Regions from separate parts of the Homo sapiens genome. Here all the other regions are linked to region 4. The links are contacts of gene promoters, found by promoter capture Hi-C in blood cells and fetal thymus (Javierre and others, 2016). All regions are on one chromosome and are shown on one strand. Each heading gives the region's core, a stretch centred on a gene start or on the middle of the fragment in contact. The rest is flanking DNA. Distances are from core to core; before and after follow the strand shown. Region 1 overlaps NDUFV3 (NADH:ubiquinone oxidoreductase subunit V3). Region 2 overlaps WDR4 (WDR4 tRNA N7-guanosine methyltransferase non-catalytic subunit). Region 3 holds the start of LOC124905023 (a long non-coding RNA gene). Region 4 holds the start of U2AF1 (U2 small nuclear RNA auxiliary factor 1). Region 5 holds the start of ERVH48-1 (endogenous retrovirus group 48 member 1, envelope).

Region 1 (2,700 bases), core at 1-2,500, 200 kb before region 4:
GCTGCAAGCCAGTCCTCCTGGGGCGGCAGAGGGGCATCTGGAAAAACCCGTGCCAGAGCCCCAGCGCAAGGCGGCCCCTCCCCTGCCCAGAAAGGAAACCTCAGGGACGCAGGGAATAGAAGGCCACCTGAAGGGTGGACAGGCAATCGTGGAAGATCAGATACCACCAAGCAATTTGGAGACAGTTCCTGTTGAGAATAACCACGGTTTCCATGAAAAGACAGCAGCGCTGAAGCTTGAGGCCGAGGGCGAGGCCATGGAAGATGCAGCCGCGCCAGGGGACGACCGAGGCGGCACACAGGGTATACCTTGACTCGCGCTCCCAAGTGCACCCTGTCCCTTAGGGTAGTGAGGCAAAAGAACTAATTTACATATGCTTGTAGAGCAGTGTTACAATTAGTCAAATTCTGTACTAGAAATATGGCCTGTAACGCTGTCTCAGCCAGGCAGAAAAGTATGTCTTAATTATGGACAATCCACATCTTTATATTTAGAATCCCTAAAATATTTAACGTTCTTTTTTTTTTTTTTTTTTGAGATGGTGTCTTGCTCTGTTGCCCAGGTAGAGTGCAGTGGCGCGATCTCTGCTCACTACAACTTCCATCTCAAGCACTTCCCCTGCCTCAGCCTCCCAAGTAGCTGAGATTACAGGCGCAGGCCACCACACCTGGCTAATTTTTTTTGTATTTTTAGTAGAGATGGGGTTTCACCGTGTTGGCCAGGCTGGCCTCGAACTCCTGACCTCAGGCAATTCACCCGCCTCGGCCTCCCAAAGTGCTGGGATTACAGGCATGAGCAACCCCACCCTGCTTAACCTTCATCTTTTTTTTTTTTTGAGACAGAGTCTTGCTCCATCTCCAGGCTGGAGTGTAATGGTGCAATCTTGGCTCACTGCAACCTCTGCCTCCCAGGTTCAAGCCATTCTCCTGCCTCAGCCTCCTGAGTAGCTGGGATTACAGTCCCCCACCACCATGTCCAGCTAATTTTTGTATTTTTAGTAGAGACGGGGTTTCACCATGTTGGCCAGGATGGTCTCAATCTCCTGACCTCATGATCAGCCTGCCTCGGCCTCCCAAAGTGCTGGGATTACAGGCCTGAGCCACCGTGCCCGGCCCCCAACCTTCATCTTAAAGAGTATGTCCTTGGCACTCTTCACTATTTCTTAACCGGTATAATTTTTGAAAACTGGCAGCTTAACATTGTCACCACTGACTTTTGAAGGTGTCCAAGTGTTCATTGATGACCTTGTGGGGCATCTCGCTAAGTGAAAAGGGGAGCCTCCGGTTTAACTTGCATAGGTGAAGAGCAGTAGCTAGTCGCTTGGCGTGAGAGTCTTTGGGTAAACTAGATGATTGCTTTCAGCATCCTGTGCACAGGGCAGATTCATAGTTCAGGAATTAAAGCAGTAAGTGTTGTACAGGTCAGCCGCTGCATACGCATCCTTTCCCCTGGACAGCGTTTCCTTCTCTGGTTAACTGAAAACACATGTGGGCTGCTTTACTCTTCTAGAAGACATTTTATGAAGGGTTTTTTGTTTGTTTGTTTGTTTGTTTGTTTTTGACATGGGTTTTGCTCTTGTTGCCCAGGCTGGAGTACAATGGCGCAATCTTGGCTCACTGTAACCTCCGCCTCCTGGGTTCAAGTGATTCTCCAGCCTCAGCCTCCAAAGTAGCTGGGATTACAGGCGTGTGGCACCACCCCCGGCTAATTTTTGTATTTTTAGTAGAGACAGGGTTTTACCATGTAGGCCAGGCTGGTCTCGAACTCCTGACCTTAGGTGATCCACCTGCCTCGGCCTCCCAAAGTGCTGGGATTACAGGCATGAGCCACCGTGCCTAGCGTGTGGAGGCTTTTAAAGGGCAACAGTATTTATTCCTATGATGTTACCATTTTTTTTTTTTTTTTTGGAGATGGAATCTCACTCTGTCACCCAGGCTGCAGTACAGTGGCGCAATCTTGGCTCACTGCCGGCTCCACCTCCCACGTACAAACGATTCTCCTGCCTCAGCCTCCTGAGTAGGTGCCACTACAGGTGCCTGCCACCACGCCTGGCTAATTATTGTATTTTTAGTAGAGACAGCGTTTTGCCATGTTGGTCAGGTTGGTCTCGAACTCCTGACCGCGGGTGATCCACCTGCCTCTGCCTCCCAAAGTGCTGGGATTTCAGGCGTGAGCCACTGCGCCCAGCTATGTTACCATTTTCTTGAGCACGAAACTTGATAAGATGCAATGCGCTTTAGGTGGGTCGTGGCAAACATGAAAAGGCAAGCTTCCGTTTTAGAATCCATGGCTCTTCTTGAAGACTTCTCTAAAGTGCATGATCCCTAACAAGCGCGGCTCCGTCCTGTGTCTGCTCTCCATCCTCTGTACCGCCGCCCCTTGCCTTATGTGCCTTACATGACGCCTTCTTGTTCTTGGTTCGTTGTGCGACAGGATCTATGTGTTTTCCCCCCTCTCCGTCTGCTCTTTGATCAGTACGCCAAGTGCCGGTGCTTGCCAGACTTCCCAGCCCTTAGGAACTGCATTTCCTGATGCTGCTGCTTTCACTCCTCCTGCTCGAAAATGGAGACGAATAACACAACTCGCAGGATAAAAACAGAATTGGGAGTTTTCAGACTGCAAACCTTTCTGAAGAGAAAGTTCTAATATTTCACGGGTGTGTTGTTTCTTAACTATCTTCTGTGCGCATGCGCAGAGCCC
Region 2 (2,700 bases), core at 68-2,567, 250 kb before region 4:
TAAAAATACAAAATTAGCCGGGTGTGGTGGCGCATGCCTGTAATCCCAGCTACTCGGGAGGCTGAGGCAGGAGAATCACTTGAACCCGGGAGGCGGAGGTCGCGGTGAGCCGAGATAGCGCCATTGTACTCCAGCCTGGGCAACACGAGCAAAACTCCGTCTCAAAAAAAAAAAAAAAGTGCTTCCAAAGTGCTCAACTGAGCTTTGGCAAATGGGTACCTACTCCACTCAACTCCACAGCAACCCTGTGAGACGCAGGGCGGGCAGGGGCATTGCTCCGTTACCAGGAGCGATGCAGACAAGGTACAGGGTTCGCCCCGTCCCCCAGCAAGGAAGCAGCTCGGCCCGCCGCCCTCGCCCAGAGACCCCACTGTCTCCCCAGAGGAAAGCAGCTCAGCCTGCCGCCCTTGCCCCCTCCTCTACCCGGGGCTCCACATGCTCCTGAGGACTCAGCCAGTGCCCCAGGCCCGAGGCTGTGCTAATCCAGCCTCCAAGTGTTAGTCCCACACACCCTTGCCACACTGAGTGCCAACTTCATCGCTAAGTGTGGTGTGGGGGGCCACACACTCACCCAAAAAAAGAACTGTTGCAGACATCACCACATGGGACAAGCCAGCCACGCCGGCCTGGCACCCGGCTCCCTTCACCCACGGTGGAAGCCCCAGCCACTGCCATTCAGGACACAGACCCTGGGCCCCAGAAGTGGCTGAGTTGAAAGAGGCTTACCCATGGACCCAAAAAACATAGCTGCCGCCCCACACCCCCAGGCTTATGGAAAGGCAGGGCATAGGACATCTGGAAGGTGCCGAGTCTCACCTGCCACTGGTCGCCCACAGGCCTGTAGAGCACCAGGGGGGCTTCCTGGCAGTCCTGGAGCACCCACAGCCCCTGGGTCTCCTCGAAAGCCACGTCCCACACTTGGTGCTGGAACGCCAGCTGCTGCCTGTACACCAACTGCTGTCTGCGGGCGTCCAGCTGGAAGATGTAGACCACAGGAGTGCTTGCCACGAAGAAAGAGAGCATGATTACTAGGACTGCAGGCCCACGGGCTCCGCTCTGCAGCCAGCACCCCAGACGGTGCAGCCCTCGCCGGTGCCACCTCAGGAGAGCCTACGCTGAAAGCCCCAGCTGCGCCACTCCCAAATGCCGGCGCCGGGGAAACCATGGGGTGACGTACACTTTTTTAAGTCCTAAGCTCTGGAGTGGCTCGTGGTGCAGCAATAGCTAACCAGCACGGTACAGGCAGGCAGGGCAGGAGGACGCAGGCCCTGGGCTCAGGCGCAGCTCTCCTCTCACACCTGCGTACTTCCAGAACGAGCTAAGAGACCTCCCCAGGCTGTCATAAGGACAAGATGAAAAGTGCCGAAAGCACCAAATAGAATACCTTTCCTGACACACACAAGTCACTCGGGAAGAAGCAGCAGAACTGCACTCCACCCCTAAACCCACCTTGTCAGCACCGCCAACCCCAGGGGGTTCCCATCCGACCAGCCCCGAGCCGGGAGTGAGGTGATGCCACCACGACTGGCCCAGGGGAAAGTCTGTCATCTCAGAAGGCCAGGCAGAGGCTGCTGGTGCTCTTTACGCCAGGGGAGTTCAACGTCAGGTTGAAGAGCGCTGGCTGAGAGGAGCCCTCACCCTCATGCAGCAGCAGTCATCAAAAGTGACATTCTCAGAGGGAGGTGCTAGACCAATACCACCACCGTTCAGGACCTCTTCATTGAGGACGTGGGCCAGTGGCCAACCCGCTAACTCTTCCCCCTGCAGGTCTGCAGAACCGGAGGCCATAGAGGTGCCGCCGCAGCTTACCCGTCGCACAGGAGCGCCACGCAGTTCTCCTGGCACCAGAATGCAATCCTGGACGCGGCAAACTTCTAAAAGGAGAAGAAGCCCATTAACTTCACGCCACCTGCAGGGGCCCGACGCCGGGCGCTCTGATCCAACAAGAGCAAGACCGAAGGACGCTCACGCCCCCACATATCAAGGAAGAGGAAACAGCACTGGAACATTCTGGAATCAGTGGGGAAAGGAGGGTAGCTGATTCCCTGTTTCCCAAGCAGATGACAAAAGCCCCCCAGTGGTTCTGGCACTCCCTGCAGGGCCTGCGACAGCCTCCAAAGCCAACAAGATAGGTCAGACAGTGAGGAGAAGAGGGAGCGGAGGACACAGGGGAAAGGAAGAGATGAGAGCTACACATACAACTGCCCTGTGAGCTCCCACAGTTCCTGGCAGAGGAAATATTAAAAATGAAGAAGAGGCCGTGCACAGTGGCTCACGCCTTTAATCCCAGCTACTCAGGAGCCTGAGGCGGAGGTTGCTGTGAGTCGAGATAGCACCACTGCACTCCAGCCTGGGCAAGAGTGGGACTCCATCTCAAAAAAAAAAAAAAAATTTTTTTTAAATGAAGGAAACTTCCAGGAACCTGAGTCCACGTGAAGCATGAAGGAAAAGGCCTGGTCCTCTCTTACACAGCTGCCTGGCAGGGGGCAGAGGCCACACCACACAGTTCTCTAGGAAATGGAACAGACCGTTTGGCGGGAAACTTTGCCAAGGCCTGGGCTTTCAGGGTGTCATGAGATTGCTCCAAGCTGGCCGGAGAATGCTGGAGTGGGCCTGGCCCCACCCCTGCCCCACCTGGCTGGCAGACCCACAAAGGTGCATGCTCAAGCACCTCCATTCCTTCCACTTCAGAGCAGGATT
Region 3 (2,700 bases), core at 131-2,630, 150 kb before region 4:
AAGAGAGGATAATTTTGCTCCCAATAGCCCAGAGGCAGTACACCTCCCCTGTGATATTGTTCCTAATATCCAACGGGGGAGAGGATGATACTTCTCCCAATATCGCAGGGGTGTTCACATCCCCAGTTACATTTTTCCTAATATCTAGGGGAGAGACAATTATATGACAGCAAATGTCTCAGGGTCTGTACATCCCTTCCTGATATTGTTCCTCATATCCAGGGGGGAAGAGGATGATGTCAAATATCAAAGGGGGTGTACACCCCCCACCACGATATTGTTCTTAATATTCATGAGGGGAACGATGATGTTACTCTGAATGTCGCAGGGGTTTTTCACACCCCCTGTGATATTGTTGCTGATATCCACAGTGGGAGAAAATAATATTACTTCCAATATTGCAGGTGGTGTATACCCCACCTGAAATATTGCACTGAAAATCCAAAGAGGGAGAGGATGGTATTAATACCAATATCGAAGTGTGTGTACACGCCCCTTGTGATATGGTTTTCAATATCCAGGGGGCGGGAGGATGATATTAGTCCCAACATCACAGAGAGTGTACACTACCCCTGTGATATTGTCCCTAACTTCCAGAGGGGAGAGGATGATATCACTCCCAATATCTCAGAAGTGGTACATCCCCCGTGATATTGTTCGTCATATCCACAGAGGCACAGGATGACATTACATTGAATTTCGCGACAGGCGTACACGCACACTGTGATATTGTTCCTAATATCCAAGAAGGGAGAGGATGATATTACTCCCAATAAAGCAGTGGGTATACATTACCCCTGTGTTATTGTCTCTAATATCTGGGGACGGGGGGCGGGGGAGAGGATAACATTCCCTCAAATTTGGCAGGTGGTTTGACGCCCCTTGTGGAATTGTTTTTAATATCCAGCGGGGAAGACAGTAATACCATTTTGGATAGTCCGATTTATCCGCCCCACCTTTCCGGAACTCTGAGACCAGGAGGCGGCATGCGGTTTCCATGTGATCCCCGATACCTTTGCCATCTTCTGTACTGTCAGCCACAAACGCAGGCCCGTTATCTGAGCTGATCCGTAAGGGCAGTCCCAATCTAGGAATCAGATCTCGAAGAAGCAGACGGGTTACTTCAGGAGCTTTCTCAGTTCGTGTTGGATAAGCCTCCACCCACCCAGAGTAGGTACGCCCAAGAACTAGTAAATACTTGTTACCTCCACACTTTGGCATCTCTGTGAAGTCTACCTGGAGATCTTCAAAGGGGGCTGCTCCATAAGCTTGTATGCCGGGCGGAACGGCTGGCACTTGCCTCGCATTACGCTGTCGGCAGATAACACACCGCTGCGTCACCGTTTTGGCAAGTGCTGACAAATGCGAGACGTAGAAATACCGGCCTAACAACTTTTCCAGTTGACTCCTGACCTACATGGCATTCGAAACATGAGTATACAGAAGTCTTTGGTAATTCAGGATCACTGATGAGTAAAACAAGATAGGAGTTGAAGCTTATCTTTGTTTAAAAAATCCTTTGGTCTTGGGATAACAAGATAATGTAAATATGGCTTAAAGGAGAATCATTTCAAAAACAAAGCAAAACAAGGAAATGAAAAATAAAATTTATGGCCTGGCACAGCGGCTCACGCCTGTAGTCCCAGCACTTTGGGAGGCCAAGGCGGGCAGATCACGAGGTTAGGAGATCGAGACCAGCCTGACCAACATGGTGAAACCCCGTCTCTACTAAAAATACAAAAATTAGCCAGGTGTGGTGGCAAGGGCCTATAATCCCAGCTACTTGGGAGCCTGAGGCAGGAGAATTGCTTGAACCCGGGAGGCAGAGGTTGCAGTGAGCTGGGATCGCCCCACTGCACACTCCAGCCTGGGCAGCGGAGTGAGACTCCGCCTGAAAAAAAAAAAAAAAAAAACAAGTAATTATCCGGGCCTGGTGGCGGGTGCCTGTAACCCCATCTACTCGGGAGGCTGAGCCAGGAGAATGGCTTGAACCTGGGAGGCAGAGGTTGCAGTGAGATGAGATTGTGCCACTGCACTGCAGCCTGGGTGACAGAGCCAGACTCCGTCTCAGAAAAGAAAAAGAAAAAGAAAATTTTAAAAATCCTTAAGCGTGACAAGCTTCAAAAACAAAAAAAGAGTCGAAAATTTAAAAAAGGAATCTTTGTATAAATAGAAAAAATGATTTTCGGAGGACTTCAAAAACTTTTTTTCTAAATCTTATATTGCTTTTAGAATTATCTTTCCTCATTGAAAAACTTTTTTTTTTTTTTTTTTTTTAATATGTAACTAGTGAAACTGTCCCCCAGGGTTAACAAGAATTCATACCTGGTTCTGGACAGAAATACAGTTCTAACTGTGAAAGGAAAGTCAGTCGCAGGACCCCACGCTGCCTCAGGCAAACCTGCCTCAAACTTTATTCCTAAGCAAGATTGCTACGAAGATAACAGGAAGCTACCTACCTTCCTCACCATTTCCCCCACAAGGAAATTCCTTGAGGGCCTCAAGATCTTTACCTTAAAACAGTTCTTTTGAATTTCACCTGGCAAGGTAAATTGGTAGCTCATCTTCACAGGTGTGGGACAAAGGACAGAATTCAGTCAGCCCTCTGCTGAGCTGCGACAAACGTATATCTGATTGCTTCCTCTGCCCTATTGTTTATTTATTTATTTATTACTTTTGGCTTATTTCTCCAAGACAAAT
Region 4 (2,700 bases), core at 174-2,673:
TTTTACCCATGTTTAAGTCTCCAGAAACTGACCTATAGTTGACCCCCACTAAATGTTTCTGGAGTGACTATAACTGGTAGATTTTGGCTTAAAATTTTGCTAGAAATATAGCCTCCTCATCCAAACAACACAGGAGATTCTACCATGTGTGAAGAGGACATTTTACAAGATAGACTCCATCCTGGAAAAGAGAAACATTTTAAATAGCGTTTGAAAAAAGTGGCATTAAAAACATCTATGACAAACTTAGGGGTTTATCATTGAAAACATAAAGTCATGTTAACTTTGTATGGCACTGAAGAATGCCAAGATAACTAAAGAGTAGATTAAGCCAGATGCTGAGTCTTTAGGTTTTCAAAGTAAGAATTATCCTTCAAACGTCTGAAAACATTCCATTTAGTCTAAACTACAGCCAACTCACTGGAAATTAGTACGTGCCAAGGTGGCAATTAAAGCTGAAATTAAATGTTTTGCTTTTAACCTAACGATTGATTAGGGAAGGCATGCAACCTTAAGGAAAAAATCAAAACATCTTTTTCCTTATATCAGAATTGTGTCTTCAAGAACAGTCACCGACTTACAAATTTTCAACTTAGATGATGGGTTTATCGGGGTATTAAAGGCATTTTCGATTCATGATGGGTTTATCGGAACGCAATCCCATGGTAAATCCAGGAGCACCTGTATGTTAAGAGCGGATCACGTCTCTTGTGGTTAGATAGTTAATCCAGTAGTCTCCACCATACTTTTTCTCGTCATATCTCCTTACTGCCGGCCCAGCGGTCGCTTAAACAGGCAAGAGGCTGGCTAAGTGGATAAAACACCAACGCTTAGGACCCTAAGTTAGATAAGCGACTGAATACTGGCGAGGCTGGTACCAGAGCTTGCTCGACAGGACATTCACAGCCGAAAGTTGGAACAAACGTGTCCACGTCCAAAAGGCCCGGATGCTCCAGGCAACTTTCAGCGCGGCTCGAGGCGGCTTCCGGGAGTCGGCGACTCGGAGGCCCGGACGTCGGGCGATCAGCCAGTCCGGACCCCAAGGCCGGAGAAAGCTCGGCCGCGGCGCCCCGAAAAGAGACCCCATTCATTCTGCCCGCTCCAGTTTTCCGCCGCGCGGCCCACGAGGCGGCGGCTCCGGAGGGCGCGCAAGGGGCCGGAAGGGCCACCGCTCCTTCCCGCCGCGCGCCCCTCCCCCGCCACCGCCGCGCCGGCCCGCCTGGGCCTCCCCGGTCGCCCTCCCACCGCCTCAACCACCCTGCGCCCCGATCGCGCCCAACCCCCGGCGGGGGGCTCCCACTCACTTGTCTTTCTCGGTGCCGAAGATGGAGGCCAGATACTCCGCCATTTCCCACCCGCCGCCGCCGCTGCCGTCGACACTGCTGCCGACGCCGCCGACCCTGCCGACGCCCTCGGGAGACGTCACCCGGACGCGACGACGCTCTTCCCCGCCCCGACGTGGCAGCGCTACCCAGTCAGGCGAGGTGCTGCCTGCGCGTGGGCGGGACGCATGCGCGTAGGGAGCACGTAGTGCGCGTGGGAGGCTCCGCCTTTTCGGTCCTGGGAACCCGCGCCCCCTGCCGGTGCCCTCCCCGCCCGGCCCTAGCTCTCTCGCCTTCTCGCCCGCCCGGCGCTGGCCCTGCTGGATCCTGCGCGCCGGGGACTGGGGGCTGGCAGTGCAGACCGAACCCGGGGCCGAGGGGCTTCTCCACAGAGCCGCCTGGGGCTCGGTGGGGGGCGCTCAGCTCGACCCCAGCTAAGGGAGCACTAGGAAGTGCGGGCGTCCCCTTCCCTGCACCCTTGCGGGGCGGGAACCGTCGACCTAGAAGAAAAAAAAAGCTGAGGCAAACTTGATATAAGTAGAGAGGTTATTTGGGCCAAGTTTGAAGATTGCAACCCGGGAGCATAGCTTCAAGTTGCCCTGAACATAGGATTTGCAACAGTGACAAGTGGGTTTATAAAGCTTAAGAGGGGGGCAGTTCTTAAATAGCTCACCAAGAATTTACATGAAAATAACAAGCTATTAATTGGCTGTACGTTGTTCTTTATATCATAATTCCAGGAAAGGAAGTTCATGGGTGAAGGCAGCGGGTCCGGAGCAATAGTGCCTTTAAACAATTGCCAGGCATGGGTGGGGACCGCTGAAGCCGCATAGACCTGTCTCTCCGGGCCGGATTAACCTCGCACGCCTCACATAGCTCGGACGCTCTGTGTTGTTTTTCTCTTCTCACACCCCTCTCCGCTTTACCCTCCCTCAGCGCTTGCCAGGTGCGACCTCCCCGGGGCCCTGCACTCTTGCAGTTGCCTGGCCAAGGCCACCCACAGGTGGAGCTGGAAGGCCAGTGACCTGCCTCTGGGATACCCTTTCAGTCTCCTCATGTCACAAGGCTGGAACCATTCCGTTGGAAGGGTTCTATTCCTCTCCTGCGTTTTAACCCCATCAAGCAGCCATTTTCATCTGGTTTCCCACATTCATCAACTCACCTGCGATTTACCTAATTTCCAACGCAACTATCAACTCTGATTAGGTAGAAGTCAGAGAGACAGGGCCTATTTTACTTACCTCCTCCACAAGATGAGCCCCAGACTGTGGGGCAGGACCATGGGATCCTCTTAGCTCGGCTAGAGCTGAATGCTGAGCTCTAGTGTTTGGGCGGATTTGCGTGTTAGAATTGCATTTCTCTTGGCAACAGAGCATCT
Region 5 (2,700 bases), core at 133-2,632, 180 kb before region 4:
GGAGCTGCGGCCCCGTGGGCCTGCAGGGCCTCCCGATGGCGGAGGCAAGCATTCGAAACTCTGCCTGTTTTTGCCTTTCACTTTCTTCATCACAATTATTAAAGGCTTTGAGGGCTAAATTGAGAAGGTCTCGTTGTGGGGTTTGAGGGCCATCGTCAAGCTTCTGAAGCTTGAGCTGGATATCAGGGATGGGTTGGGAGATGAACCGAAGGCTTAAGATAGTGGTTCCTTCTGGGCTGGCTGGGTCTAGGTTGGTATATTTTCTCATGGCTTCCATTAAACAAGAGAGGAAAAAGGGCTGGGTTTTCGTCAGGACCTTGGGTGATTTCTAAAAGTTTTTCATAGTTTACCGCTTTATGGGCACACTTTTTGAGTCCTGCAAGGAGACACACAATCATGTGGTCTCGATGGCAGCATCCAAAGGCCCCATCTTGATAATCCCAGTGGGGGTCCTGGCTGGGGACTGCCTCTGTGCCAGCAGGCTGGGCGGCAGCTTGGTGATGAATTGTATCAGCATGTGCCTGAGCTAGGGTCCAGATACGGTCCCAGTCTTCTGGGGTGAGCGTGGAAGAGAGGATAACGTAGAGGTCATGCCAAGTTAGTTCATAAGACTGGGTGAGGTACTGAAACTCTCTAATATAAGAGGCAGGGTATTCTGGAAATAAACCGAGTCTTTTGTGAATTCAAGAGCGATCAGTGAGGGAGAAGGGAACATGAACTCTAATAAGATCTTCAGTTCCTGCTACTTCCCGAAGGGGGCATTCTAGCACAGACGCTGAAGTAAGGGTGGGGCATGGGCCAAAAGCAATGCCTGAATGAGTATAGGCGGGAAAGAAAGAAAAGCCGGAAGTGGTTCCTGCTGAGGGTTTGAAGGGGGAAGGAGGGTTGAGTTAATAGGCAGCAGAGGATAGATAGGAGCGGAAGGTGGCGGGGTGGGTTTACAGGCCTCAGGAGAGAGCGGTGGGGGAGGAGAATGGGTACAGGCAGTGCAAGAATTGTCCTGAGGAGAGGATGGTGTAGGAAAAGAAGTGGATACTCTTGGAGGCAGTGCTGGCTGGGAAGACAAAGAGGAGGCTTAGGGGGTTAAAGAAGACGGTTGAGAGGAAGAGGCAGGGGCTGGAAGGGGTGGACAGCAGTTGGCTGGATCCAACAAGGAAAAAGAGTTAGGGTCGGGAGGAGAACGGCGATCAGGGCGGCGAGAATGGAGGGGGAGGATTTGAACAGGTGAGCAAGAGCAGAGGCCAGGTTGTAATCTGAGTGTGAACAAGGCCTGGATATAAGGAATTTCTCCCCATTTTTCCAGCCGTCAGCAATAATTGCTTAAGTCAGTTAAAATTGTAAAGTCGTATGTTCCATTTGTGGCCCATTTGGACCCACTGTCCAATTTGTACTGTGGCCAGACTGAATTGCAAAAAAAGAACAAGGTGCTTAGAGGGATATCTCGCCTGAGGTCTAAGGTTTGCAGGTTTTTCATGAGGCAGCCTAGAGGGCTGTCCTTTGGAATGGAAGACTGGGAATTTTCCATAATGGAGGGTAGGCTCAGGAGAACGGGAAAAGCAGACCGTCCTGGACAGCCGGAGGGAGACGATAAAAGGAGCGTTTGTCACCGCTGCCTTTTTCATTCCCAGAATGGGATCAACTGGCTTAGAGTCCCCCTAAGACCAGATGATCAGCGAGTGCCTGGCACACACCTTAGCATTTTTTTTTTTTTTTGAGACAGAGTCTTGCTCTGTTACCCAGGCTAGAGTGCAGTGGCGCGATCTCTGCTCACTGCAACCTCCACCTCCCGGGTTCAAGCGATCCTCCTGCCTCAGCCTCCCGAGTAGCTGGGATTACAGGGGCCTGCCACTGTGCCCAGCTAATTTTTGTATTTTTAGTAGAGACGGAGTTTCACCATGTTGACCAGGCTGGTCTCGAACTCCTGATCTCGTGAATCCAACGGCCTTGGCCTCCCAAAGTGCTGGGATTACGGGCGTGAACCACCACGCCCGGCCATGCCATAGCCTTCTTGGACCCATGTTGGATTTTGGGGCTGGAGAAACCAAGAGAGGCCGTGCGGATTTTTCCCTGTTAACCGGGCTCCCAGGAAACTTACCAGTAGGCGAGATCAGTGACCGATGTGCATGCACAGAGAGGCGACTAGAGGCTGAGGAGCTTCCTTTGTCCGGCTGCTGTGGCCTGCTTTCCCAGATGGAGGGGTGGTAGGTCCACTGGGGACGTGGACGGAAGCCCCTCGCAGGTTTCAGGGCCAGCCCCAAGGCTCTTGCATTGGTTGGAACCCGGAGAGCGCGCCAACAGACAACACGAGGCGGTGTGGAGCAACACACTGTTTTAATAAGCACCTGGATGCAGACAGACTGAGGCCTAGAATGGCATCAGCCCCAAGTGAGGAGGGGGCAGGGCTTTTATAGTTCTCTGTAAACAGGAATTGTCCCAGCCTGACGTGACTGCTATGTAGTACGCGGACGGCCTCCCCCTTGATCTTCAGAGAGTATGTGTCTTCCAGCCAGCTCTTTTCCTGCCTCTGCTATCTTGCTGCTGGTGCAAGTTTGAGCGTTGGGACTGGGCCTGAGGAGGAGGAGTTACTCATTCCCTCAAGCTTTCAGGCCCCTGGGAGAATCTTTCAATCAGGACTTCCTGAGGCGGTGTCACAGGTCCCTGCCCAACCTTGGCAAAATAAACTTTCTAAATTAACAAGAG

What was found. Contacts are between HindIII fragments. The CHiCAGO score rates a contact against its expected background, and 5 or more counts as called.
Region 1: a fragment that was not itself captured here is called in contact with the fragment with the promoter of U2AF1 in region 4 in 2 of 17 cell types (endothelial precursors and erythroblasts); the score reaches 7.6 in endothelial precursors.
Region 2: a contact is called between a fragment that was not itself captured here and the fragment with the promoter of U2AF1 in region 4, in 1 of 17 cell types (erythroblasts). The highest score is 5.2, in erythroblasts.
Region 3: a fragment that was not itself captured here is called in contact with the fragment with the promoter of U2AF1 in region 4 in 1 of 17 cell types (endothelial precursors); the score reaches 6.3 in endothelial precursors.
Region 5: a fragment that was not itself captured here is called in contact with the fragment with the promoter of U2AF1 in region 4 in 13 of 17 cell types (megakaryocytes, endothelial precursors, erythroblasts and 10 more); the score reaches 18.7 in megakaryocytes.

What each region holds. Positions count from the first base shown.
Region 1 is chr21:42,903,975-42,906,674 of GRCh38, forward strand. It overlaps NDUFV3 (NADH:ubiquinone oxidoreductase subunit V3), which reads left to right. Exons shown (of 4, transcript NM_021075.4): 3 at 1-302. Among named protein-coding and RNA genes, the nearest start is that of NDUFV3, 12 kb to the left of the region's middle. The HindIII fragment of the contact is 2,034 bases long and covers 234-2,267 here.
Region 2 is chr21:42,852,753-42,855,452 of GRCh38, forward strand. WDR4 (WDR4 tRNA N7-guanosine methyltransferase non-catalytic subunit) reads right to left here. Exons shown (of 11, transcript NM_018669.6): 8 at 1,810-1,874; 9 at 817-1,000. Among named protein-coding and RNA genes, the nearest start is that of WDR4, 25 kb to the right of the region's middle. The HindIII fragment of the contact is 8,131 bases long and covers 1-2,700 here.
Region 3 is chr21:42,954,485-42,957,184 of GRCh38, forward strand. LOC124905023 (a long non-coding RNA gene) reads right to left here and starts at 1,328. Exons shown (of 2, transcript XR_007067882.1): 1 at 1,206-1,328; 2 at 1-1,100. RefSeq lists enhancers at 1,677-2,527, 2,528-2,700. The HindIII fragment of the contact is 228 bases long and covers 1,267-1,494 here.
Region 4 is chr21:43,106,147-43,108,846 of GRCh38, forward strand. U2AF1 (U2 small nuclear RNA auxiliary factor 1) reads right to left here and starts at 1,424. Exons shown (of 8, transcript NM_006758.3): 1 at 1,305-1,424. The coding sequence starts at 1,348. LOC101928369 (a long non-coding RNA gene) reads left to right here and starts at 1,544. Exons shown (of 5, transcript XR_937770.3): 1 at 1,544-1,949. The HindIII fragment of the contact is 2,538 bases long and covers 1-1,961 here.
Region 5 is chr21:42,923,251-42,925,950 of GRCh38, forward strand. ERVH48-1 (endogenous retrovirus group 48 member 1, envelope) reads right to left here and starts at 2,380. Exons shown (of 2, transcript NM_001308491.2): 1 at 2,096-2,380. RefSeq lists an enhancer at 2,515-2,700. The HindIII fragment of the contact is 2,430 bases long and covers 168-2,597 here.